Linked DNA regions of Homo sapiens: regions 2 and 3 are each linked to region 1. Evidence: promoter capture Hi-C in 16 types of primary human blood cells and fetal thymus (Javierre and others, 2016). All regions are on one chromosome and are shown on one strand. The core of a region is centred on a gene start or on the middle of the fragment in contact, and the rest is flanking DNA. Distances in the headings are between cores, read along the strand shown.

Region 1 (3,785 bases), core at 683-3,182:
ATTTATAGAAAATTGTGCCTCAGGTATACATTTTGCTTACCATTAGATCTATTTCAATTCCAAAGGAATATATGGAGGGAGAGGGAGTATTTGTAGCTTCTAAAAATGTTCATGGAGGGGTGGCTTATTCTCTTTGCCCTTAGTTTAATAGAAGCAAGAGGTAGTTTGGAGTAGCAGGAAGTCAGAGATGGGTTCATTGTATCGTTATTTCTAGTCCTAGCTCTTCACTGTCCTTGGCAAGGTTCTTAACCTCTCTGGGTTCCCCTCTTCTTACCTTTCTCCTATTCTTCCCCAAGTGTGGGAGTCACACTTCAACACTATACACCCGGGAGTGTTGTGTTGTTAAAAAGTATTGTTAAATACTTTTTAAACGTGTTGAATACTTGTTAAATACTTTTTAAATGTGTATTTATTTATTTGAGTTAGTACTACATACACATGGTTCAACATGTAAAAGACATAAAGGGAAATTCAGTGCCATCTCCCTCCCACCTGCTCCTTTCTGCGTGTCCCTGTTCCAGTTCTCAGTTTTCTTTTTCAAACTCAGAAATCCCAAGAGTCTGTGAAGGGCAAATGAAAAGCAAAATGACTAGACTAAATCTGAATGAAAGGGATTTATTCTAAGGTGATACTGCTCACTGCTCAAGGTGCTTATCTGCCCCCTTCATGGGCTCCCTCAAGTTTTCTGAGACTTCAAACAGCAACACTCAACTAAACTATAAAATAGTCACAGCACCTTTTCGAGAAATTTTGACTTTGAACTTGCTAATATGCAAAGGAAATAGTCCAACCATTTCTCTAGAACTTGGTTGATAAGAAATTTTATTTTGTCCCATTTATAATTTTATTCTAAAAATTTGTTTTTTTCTGCTATCGAGTAGGAGAGAAGGGAATAAGGGAAAGATTTGTTTTTGCACTACTGTGAGATTTTTATACCTTAGGCCAGGACAAAGCACACAAGAAATAAAATATTAACAAAATGTCCTTAATTTTCCTTTCTGACCAAAATTGCTTGCCTCTGCATTTATATATAAAGAAGGGATGTGTTGAGCAAATGAAGGAGGACAGCTAGGCAGACAAGATTTGCCCAGCGCCTGGCATACAATAGGGGCACAGGTCATTGCTTAACAAAACGTATAATTTATTAATACATGCTCGAAGCACTGCTATACTAACCAAATATTCCCTGCAAAATTTTAAATTTACAGTGCAAAATAAGAATAATTTAAAAACTGTTTCTAGAAAAAGAGCTTTAAGGGCTTCCCCCCCCATAACAATTTAAGATTAACCTAGAACATGGTAGTTATTTTGCAAGAACTGGGGAGCACCACTCTCTTCTCCTTGTGCATGTCTGACATTGGAGGCCTATTGTGCACGAAGTTGTGATCAAAATCCAAGTCAATTCATTTTGAAAAGTAACATGACTACAACATCCATCCACTCCAATGAGCAAAGGGTGTAGGCTTTGAGTATACACAGCAGGCCACACACTATGGGTCATGGCATACAGTCTAGCGTTGGAGGTTGCTGCATTTGTTCATGTATCTATGAGTTAGGTTTTAAGTTTTTTCCCCCTGTTCTATTAATATAATTAATTAGTTAATTAACCCCACTCATTCATTTACTCAGTCCACAGCCTTTTGTTAAGAGCCCGCCTAGGACATAAAGATGAAGATCCAGTGCCTACCCTCATGAAACATAGAATCCGAGCGAAGAAGGCTTACTTTGCAATAGTCATCCAAGTGGTGCTTTTATGGCGCTTTACTGCTCCCGCCAACACCCAGTGCCTGGGTATGACCTCAGGCGGTGGCAGAGCCCGCGTGCGAGGTCCCGCTCTCCCTGGCTTGCCCCGGCAGGGCGGAGTCAGCCTAGCAGCCGCCGGCGCTGCCCCCGCGCGGCCTTTAATTTTGCAGCTCCGACCACCGGAAATTAGTCGAAGGCTGAGCGGACCCGGTCGAGAGCCGGCGAGCTCCGCGCAGGGAGGGTGCGCCCACCGGTCCCGCCGGGCGCCCGCGGGACGCGCCGCCAGGGCCCTCTCCGCCGGGGGCTCGGCGCTCGCCCACCTCTTCCAAATTTAACCATTACCTAAATCCGAAGGGAAATGAGCAAACCTCTCGGATTGGGTGTCAAGGTATTTTCAGCCTCGTTGGGCGTATTTATCCCCAAGTGTTTCCACAACAAGCTATTTCGGGGCCTGCGGGGCAGGTTTCGCTCTGCGGACGCCGTGGCCACTCGCCGGGCTCCAGGCCGGCGGCACCGCGGGCCGGTGATTCACGGTCCCGACCCGGGGGTGGTGCAGCCCTAGGAGGCGGCGGGGTCGGGGGTGGGGGGGGCGGGTGACCGAGGCCTGAGGGGCGGGGAGGGTCCTCGGAGCGGGGCGCCCCCCACCCCTCTCTCGCCAGTCAATCTGTGTCCTCAATCTGTGGCTTCTCTCGCTGCGGAAGTCTCCCTGGAGCCAAGAATAGTTCATTTTCTTTCAAGTCATTTCTAGTGCCTAAGTGTCCGGACCTCCAATTTCCCCCATCCCCTGCCGACCCACAGGGAGAGAACTGGGAGGACTACTAAGGGGCGCGCGGGACGGGCTGGAAAGGCCAGGCCCCCCACCGCCTGGCCACTTGCGCAAAGGAGCGCGCCCGGCCGCCCGACGGGGGTTGGGAGCAGGTCTGGGAGGGCTATGCGAGCGACTCAGTAACGCTCAGGAAGTGAAGCTTGTGGTTTTGGGGGCTGAGCTCGGAAGGAGAATTTTTTTTTTTTTTAAGTCAGAGAGATAGAGCGGTCTCTCCCGAAAGCAAGATTCCGTTTGAAAACTCTCCTAGCGCGGTGCCCGCGCCGTGACTCCGCAGGTAGGTCCGCCGAGCCTGTTCTGCGCCTCCTGCCCTGGTGGGGGCGGCCGCGGGGACTCGCAGAGCACTGGCACTGCGGGGGCGATCAGAGGGCGCGGGCGGTTTCCCACCTGCTGCGGACCGCCGTGCGGGAGCCCAGAGAGCTCCGGCAGCTGGGTTAGGGCGCGACCCGCGCAGTGTGACTGGAAATCTGGAGCTGGGGGCGCGCAGCAGGCGGTCTGGTGGTTCGGCAGGGGAGCCAAATCCACCAGGGAAGGAAACATCTGGTGGGGAGGCGGCGGCAGCTGCGCTCGGGAGGACGCCCCCTTAGCGCCCTCGGCTCCCTCCTTCCTGGGCCCGGACGGTGAGGAGAGGCCTGAGCGCGCGGAGGGGCCGCCCCACCTCCCGCGCCAGCTGCAGCGCGGGGTTGCCTTCCCACGCGCTCGGCCCAGGCCCCGGGGCCCCTATCTCCTCCAAACTCTGTCGCTCCCCACAGGAACCAGCAAAGCGGGCCGGGGTGCGAGAGAGGCGTGGGCTTACAGCCCGGGTGGGGAGGCGGCCTCCGCGTCCGCCTGGTCTCTGGTGGCGCCAGCCCAGACCCAGCTCCGGCGCTGACAGTTACCCCGCCCCCATCTGTCCCGCTCCCAGCCAACGTGGGTCCAAGCTGCAGCGGGACCCTCGGGACAACGCCACTCCGTTTTTCTTTTCTTCCGAGTTTCGTGGCTGTTTAAAGAATTGGGTTTGGGGTTTGTGGCGTCTAATTGTACGGACGAGAAGTGCAGGAAGCGACAAAGCTCTAGCCCTAGGAGCCACCCCGGAGGGAGGCGGATGGCACTCTCACCCCTAGGGGCATTCTGGCGCTTGGGTAGCGGGAAACTTCGCGGGAGCCCCGCGACACGTCCCAGGCGTCTTTTCTCCCAGGTCTATTCCCATTCCTCCGGAGAAGGGGACACAATGGGGCTG
Region 2 (3,785 bases), core at 922-3,421, 490 kb after region 1:
TTTGGAATGCCTATGTGATGTTTAAGTAAAGACATTTAGTAGAGTTGTATAAACATGCCTGGGGCCTGGATACATTTGAATTGTAAAAATGAGACTAGAAGTCATGGATGCCAAAGATCACCCAAGTATAGAGCACTGCTTCCAACCTTTTCCATGTCATGATATATAGAAAATGATCAATGTATGGCCACCTGCATAAATGGAAAGGCTGCTCCCAGCTCATTGCTATAAGAGCTGAGGGGACATTCATTCAGTAAGACTGTGCTTTGAAACATGGTTGGGAAATTCTGGGGTAGATGAAAAAAACAGAGAGGCTTAAGGATGCAATTCAGAGAATTATCAACATCTAAAGGGAGGCAAATAAAGAGATATCTGTAAGGAACAGACAGATGGGATTGTTAAGAGAGGTGTCATAAAAGCCTAGGAAGTATGTCAAGGGTCCAACTCTCTGAAAAATATTTTTACATGAATGACCCTGTGATACCTCAAAAGACTACAAAACTCATCTTTCCTCAGAAGCCTATTCTTCATCTTGTGTCCCGGGTCTGTCAACCTGGACAGTATCCAGCCAGTATCCTGTGAGCCACCGAAGCTTATATCCCTGGGTTATTAACCCAGCATGTTTTCATATTTTGCAGACCTGCCCATTCTACTCTTGCAATTTCTTTTAACTTTCCCCTTCTCTTTCCTTCTATCACTTTATGTCATTTTTTCCCTACTACTGCAACAGCCCAGCTGGTCTCCTTCCCTTCTCTGGTCTCTATATTCTCCTTTCCTTCAACTCACCTAAATAATATTGGCAAATTAATCACTCAGAGGCACACCTTCACTCAAAAAAACCTTCATTGCCTCCCCACTGACTATGCTATTATAATTAAGTCCAAAGTATCTAAAGGGTTAAATGATCTAAACCTGGTCTACCTTTGTAATTTTCCACATTCCTGTTTAATCCAACCAAATCTTTAATCACATGGAATTATGAGTTGCCTAAATACCTTCACATTCATGTTGCTTCCTCCATCCAAATGCCTTTCCATACTAAATAAACATAGGTAAGCCTTATTTTTTTTCTGCACTATCCAGCTCAAATGATACTCATTCTGTAAAATATGTATCTGCCAAACACATCAGGTGATTCTGCCTTCTTCACCTCCTTAAACTTCACTTTAGGTTCTTTCAGGGCACATTATTTTTACTTTATATACCAGTTGTTTATTTCTCCTATGAGATAGCAAACTCCTGGATTTACTTTTTCATTTGCAATTATGAATTCATGTTTATATAACAGCCTAAATATTTTAAAAACTCAATATAATTTGGTGAAGTTTAAAAAAATTTTTTTATTATACTTTAAGTTCTGGGATACATGCGCAGAATGTGCAGGTTTGTTACACGTGCCATAGTGGTTTGCTGTACCCATCAACCTGTCATCTACATTAGGTATTTTTCCTAATGCTACCCCTCTGCTAGCCCCCCATCCCCCAACAGGCCCCAGTGTGTGATGTTCCCCTCCCTGTGTCCATGTGCTCTCAGTGTTCAACTCCCACTTATGAGTGAGAACATGCAGTGTTTGGTTTTCTGTTCTTGTATTAGTTTGCTGAGGATGATGGTTTCCAGCTTCATCCATGTCCCTGCAAAGGACATGAACTCATCCCTTTTCATGGCGGCAATTTAGTGAAGTTTTTATGAGAAGGGGAAAGGGTAAACTATAAGGATAAGGGTATGGCTAAAAGCTTCAACTTATAAGGAAAAAAAATTCAACATTGTCCATTTCATGTGGAGATCATATGTGGGCAGGTGTGATGAAAACCAGTAACACTTAAAAATTCATTTTTTAATCTTTTATGTACTCTAACATTTTGTCAAACTATTTTTCCAATAAGAAAACTTCAACATATTGCTTTTATCATTTAATTGTAAGGTTTAACAAAAAATTTATTTCTATTGAGATTTAACTCCAGAAAAAGAAAATGTCTCTATAAATTTTATGGCTCACATACATTTGCAATTTCCCTTGGGCATAGTGCCACCTACAGTTGGCAAATGTAAACCATGTTGTTTCTGAGAATCTTGCTAACTGCAAAAGAACAGCTACTCTGGCATCATCCAAACTTTCCTTTATATATTAGCTTACTAATAGGCATCATATAAACAGAATTTCAAGTAATATAATAAACTGATCCTTACTGAAGGTGTAGGTATTAAAAGCCTGACTTTTCATAGATAGGGTGTTTTCTTAAATTAGGAATAAGAGAACACCTTGACTACATTCTCACCTTTGTTTTTCATAATCTATTCCTTTTCAAGGGCAAGGCTACCCTAGCATTCTTATAAAACATACTCTAGTTAAAAGAGTAACTTTTTCCTACTTTAGCTCTTTATAATGAGCCTTCAAATGTTCAAATCCCTCCAATTAAAAAACTCAAAATAATCTTGCCCACTCCTCCAAAAAATCTATTTTCCTGTTAAAGCCACAAATATCTTTCCATCCTCTTTACCAACAAAGTTCTTCAAAGAATGCTTTACATTCACTACACTCAAATTCCATTACTTCTCAATTTACAACAATCTGGTTTCTGCCCCATCACAACAGGTACTAAAAAAGCTTCCGCAAAAGTAAAAATTCTCACATTCCCAATGTAATGCTCTCTCTCCATTCCTCATCCTACTTAAATGCTCTGCAGTATGTGATACTTTTGATTTCCTTCTAAAAAAAAAATCTATCTTCCTGGGCTTTTATTACACTATTTTTTCTTTTTCTCTACCATTGATTACCTCTTCTTTTAACTATTTTTTTCTACTTTTACTGAGGAGGTTTTGTTTCTTAGAATTTTGTCTTTAAGCTTTTCTCTTCCTGCTCTGCAGATTTTCCTGGGTGTTTTCATTTATTCTTATGGCTTCAAGTAGCTTCTACATACTGTTAATTCCTAATTTCTAATTCCTGTTACACCCTGTTAGTTCTAGAAACCTATTTCTAGCTTTATATTTCCACTTAGATATTCTGTAACATCTCAAACATGTGCCAAATGAGTTCTGTCCCCTGTTTTCAATCCAACTATTAGATAATCTCCCAGTAGCTCATTCATCCTAACGAAGTATATCAATTCTGCCACAAAAATACCTTATATATCCACATGCTTTCTACAGTTGCTGTGTTAGTTTTGGTCCTAATAATTTATTTCCTAGACTACAGCATTCAGTGTCCTTACTTAATCCTAACTACATCAGAGCATCATCTTAATCCATCCTCTACATGGTAAGCAGCAATTTTTTCCCTATTATAAAACCTGGGGCTGGGTGTGGTGGCTCACGCCTGTAATCCCAGAACTTTGGGAGGCCAAGGTGGGTGGATCACTTGAGTCCAGGAGTTCAAGACCAGCCTGGCCAACATGGTGAAATCGTCTCTACAAAAAGTACAAAAATTAGCCGCATATGGTGGTGCATGCCTGTAATCCCAACTACTTGGGTGGCTGAGGCATGAGAATTGCTTGAACCCGGGAGGCAGAGGTTGCGGTGAGCAGAGGTTGTGCTACTACACTCCAGCCTGGGCAACAGGGCGAGACTCTGTGTCAAAAAAATAAATAAATAAAATAAAATTGAATAAAATCTGATTATGCTTCCTATACAAAGCTCCTTGTTGTACACAAAGTATACAAATTTGTATATAATTTGTTGTATACAAATTAATGGCACTGGTATTCTAGGTAACTCATGACCTATAGCTATCATATCTTCTGTTATCCTCCAAGTATCTTGAAAATGTATTTCAAAAAAAGAGTAGACAT
Region 3 (3,785 bases), core at 496-2,995, 460 kb after region 1:
AAAAATCTCTGAAAGCAAGCAAGCTAGGAAACAAAAAGAACCAAAAGCTAAACACAGACATTGGGTTTTTATAGCAGGCAACTCAAGCAACTGAGTTTTCAGATGTGAAAGAATCATTTTGCAGATTCAGAAGATGAGGCCCAAAGATGGTAACATGAGTCATAAAATGGTTGAGAGCAGGGCTGTGACCAGAATCTCCATCTTGTCCTAACTCCCAGGACAATGCTCTTTCCACTCGGTTCTCTGTCTCTGGGGAAGCTCTTTAGGCGGCCAGAGCGAGGGGAAAAGTGTTTTATGGAATTCCAGATGGTTCTTATACTACTTTTACCCCTCAGGTTGAACAGAGATAACAAATCTGACTTTACCCTCAGCTGCACGATGGCTTCCTAGAGGTTCAATAACTTTTTTTATTGGTGGTGAGTCTTGGAGGATTAAATGTTATGGGCACTGCAATGGATTTAATTAACAGATACTTTATTGCACTGACTATGCATCAGGCATTGTTCTAAGTTTTTCGTGTTTGTTTTTATAAATATTAACCTATTTAATTCTCATGTCGACCCCAGGCAAGAAAGAAGTTCTCTTGCCCTTCTGAACTTCAGCTGCGGGGCAATTTAGCTCCTAACAGGAAATAAGGACTTGGTGACATAAACATCCCCTCTTATGAGGCTGGGTTTGAAAGGCCTGTGAGTCAGACTGCAGGGTGTATCACGGGAACTATTTCCCTTCACCACCTGGAGCCTCAGGAAACAGAATATTTGTGGGCTGTGAGGAAGCTTGAACAATTAGCGTCTGCAGGCATGGCTGGATTTACCTTTTATTCCATTCCTTTCTTTGGTCCCTGACTTCATAAGTATGCATTCCTCCCCACAACACACACAATTTACTTATTGTTTCATGCAACCTAAGTCGTCTGTGATCATAATAAACTCATGACTCCCAAAGACTGACTGTTTACTCTTATTATCTCTAAAATTGGGCAAGAACAGCCTCCTGAGACATTAGGATGCCACGAGGAACAATTCTCTACAGCTGATCTGAGCTCTAAAGGGCAAAAGGGTGACAGGAGACAGCTTCCCCTTGCAGTAGGAAAAAGAGCAGGTTTATTCTGGGTTGTTGTGGCGCCGGGGGGCAGTAATATAAGAGGCCCCTGATTAGAGAAGTTCCACATTCAGAAACCAATCAAGGTGCCTGCAAAGACCGAGTGCTGTTTATCTGTATCTCTCTCTCTCTCTCTCTCTCTCACACACACACACACACACACACACACACGACACACAGGGACCCAACCCCTCCTCCCCTCCTGCCAGGACACTAGGGGACGCTGAGCCAGCGTCTCGGAAGGAGAAGCCCGGAGCCCCCCACCCTCGCGGCGGTCACGCTCCCTCCCGCTCCCGCCAGGCCCGCGCGGCCCTTCACCTTGATCCGCACGTAGCAGTGGGTGCCCAAGGAGGGGTCGCTCAGGCACGCGGGAGGGTGCTCCCGGGCGGGCCGCCGGAAGGTCTGCGCCGGCCCCTTGCCGAGGCTCCACAAAAGTTTGAGCAGGTGGATGGAGGCGCAGAGCCCGCAGTAGCAGTAGACCAGGGACCAGAAGAGCAGGGACCGGAGCGTGAGCATCAGGCGGGGCAGGCAATCCCGCAGCCTCGCCATTGGGAGGCGGCGGCGGGGCCCACTGCCCTTCCTCGGGAGCGGGTGAGCGAGCGCCGCAGCGCGCCAGGCCAGCCCGCCGTCGCCTCTCGACGCGCGCCTCCCCCGGCCCGGGGCGGCCGGCGTTCCGTGTCACCGCGGCGGCTCCGCACACGCGCCGCGCCCAGCCCGGAGCGCGCAGGGGAGAGCCGGGCCTGCGGGGTGCGGCGGGCCAGGCCGGGGTGCAGAGCTTGGCTGTCTTCCGCGGAGAGCGAGATCCCGTTTCAAAATCGCAAAACTGTGGGGGAGGATGAAGGCGAGACTTTCCCAAACCATCCTGGGCACCAAAGAAGGTAGCGCCACTCAGTCTTCTTTGTTGTTCTCAATGTATCAAGCAAAACTATTTCTAAGCCCACATATTCGTGTGTCATAGTTCAGGGACACAGGTCAGCGACAAACTTCCATGCTATTACACCCAAAGAGATTCTTTAGAGTGCAAAATCACTCTGCACTCTGAAAGATACCAGCCTTCCTCTTCTCAAAATCTTTCGTGGAATCATAATTTCTGTAGAAATCCGCCTATGCCTTGCCTGGTTCAGCCACAGCAAACTTACAGAGAGCTGCAACCCCAGGGATACAACGAATGCTTCAACAACGTGACGCGGCAGAAGCCTGGCCAGAAGGCCACACACCTGAGAGTTCGTCGAAGGGCTGGAAGCCGTGAGAGTGACAGTCCTCGGTAGGTATCTCAGCCTCAGCACCGACATGGCCACTCTTGTCCTGACCTCTTCTATCGTCCAGTTCACTGTTAGAATTTCATTAAGCCTTTTCCCAATCACCGGGTCAGGTATTAAGTGTTCATTTTTTATGAGAAACTGTCAAACTGGTTTCCAAAGTGGCTGTACAATTTTGAATTTACTTCAGCATGTGTGAGTTATACAATTGACCTTTGAACAATGCGGGGGGTTAGGGTTGCTGAACCCTTTCACATCTGAAAATCCATGTATAACTTTTGAGTTCCCCCAAACTTAAGTACTAATAGCCTACTACTGACCAAAACAATTAACATATGTTTATGTATTACATACTGTATCTTTATAATTAAGAAAAATGTTAAAATCATAAGGAAGAGAAAATACATTTACTATTCATTAAGTGGAAGTGGATTATCTTAAGAGTGTTCATCCTTGTCATCATCAGGTTAGGTAAGCTGAGGAGGAGAAAGAAGAAGGGAGGTTGATCTTCCTGTCTTGGGGTGAGGGGGAGGGAAGAGGTGGAAGAAAATCCATGTGTAAGTGGACCTACACAGTTCAAACACATGTTGTTTGAGGGTTAACTGTATTTTGCTCTTTTTTTCTAGGGTCTTGAGTTAGGAACTTATTGAGACCTTTGCAATTTCTAATGCAATCATTTAGCACCTATACATTTCTCTCAGTACTCTTTTTATTTTATTTTTTGAGACGGAGTCTCACTCTGTCGCCTAGACTGGAGTGCAATGGCGCGATCTCCATCTCAGCTCACTGCAAGCTCCGCCTCCCGGGTTCACGCCATTTTCCTGCCTCAGCCTCCTGAGTAGCTGGGACTACAGGCGCCCGCCACCATGCCCGGCTAAGTTTTTTGTATTTTTGGTAGAGACGGGGTTTCACCGTGTTAGCCAGGTTAGCTCGTGAACCGCCCGCCTCAGCCTCCCTAAGTGCTGGGATTACAAGTGTGAGCCACCGCGCCTGGCATCTCTCAGTACTCTTTAATCGTATTACATATGTGTTGATATGTTGTATTTTGCCATTTGTTATGTATTTTTTAAAATGTCCTGTTTTAGGTTGGGTGCTGTGGCTTACGCCTATAATCCCAGCACTTTGGGAGGCTGAGGCAGGAGGATCGCTTGAGCTCAGCAATTCAAGACCAGCGTGGGCAACATGGCAAAACCCTGTCTCTACAAAAAATAGAGAAATTAGCCAGGTGTGGTGGTGCACGCCTGTAGTCCCAGCTACTTGGGAGGCTGAAGTGGCAGGATCGCCTTAGCCCTGGAAGGTTGAGGCTGCAGTGAGCCAAAATCATGCCACTGCACTCTAGCCTGGGTTAAAGAGTGAGATTATGTTTCAAAAAATGAAAAACAAAACAAAACAAAACAAAAAACAGGGCCGGGGGTGGTGGCTCAC

The links. The method cuts DNA at HindIII sites, captures the fragments that hold promoters and counts their contacts. A CHiCAGO score of 5 or more calls a contact.
Region 2: a fragment that was not itself captured here is called in contact with the fragment with the promoter of GFI1 in region 1 in 2 of 17 cell types (fetal thymus and megakaryocytes); the score reaches 8.5 in fetal thymus.
Region 3: a contact is called between the fragment with the promoter of EPHX4 here and the fragment with the promoter of GFI1 in region 1, in 1 of 17 cell types (fetal thymus). The highest score is 6.7, in fetal thymus.

Annotation. Positions count from the first base shown.
Region 1 is chr1:92,485,072-92,488,856 of GRCh38, reverse strand. It overlaps GFI1 (growth factor independent 1 transcriptional repressor), which reads left to right and starts at 1,932. Exons shown (of 7, transcript NM_005263.5): 1 at 1,932-2,131. RefSeq lists enhancers at 1,726-1,775, 2,676-2,825, 2,748-3,348 and silencers at 1,896-2,105, 2,196-2,305, 2,926-2,975, 3,176-3,355. The HindIII fragment of the contact is 3,142 bases long and covers 1-2,710 here.
Region 2 is chr1:91,996,053-91,999,837 of GRCh38, reverse strand. The region is part of intron 15 of BRDT (bromodomain testis associated); the gene reads right to left. Among named protein-coding and RNA genes, the nearest start is that of EPHX4, 32 kb to the left of the region's middle. The HindIII fragment of the contact is 872 bases long and covers 1,736-2,607 here.
Region 3 is chr1:92,027,945-92,031,729 of GRCh38, reverse strand. EPHX4 (epoxide hydrolase 4) reads right to left here and starts at 1,745. Exons shown (of 7, transcript NM_173567.5): 1 at 1,420-1,745. The coding sequence starts at 1,650. LOC124904218 (a long non-coding RNA gene) reads left to right here and starts at 1,343. Exons shown (of 2, transcript XR_007066222.1): 1 at 1,343-2,365. RefSeq lists an enhancer at 1,545-2,046. The HindIII fragment of the contact is 12,008 bases long and covers 779-3,785 here.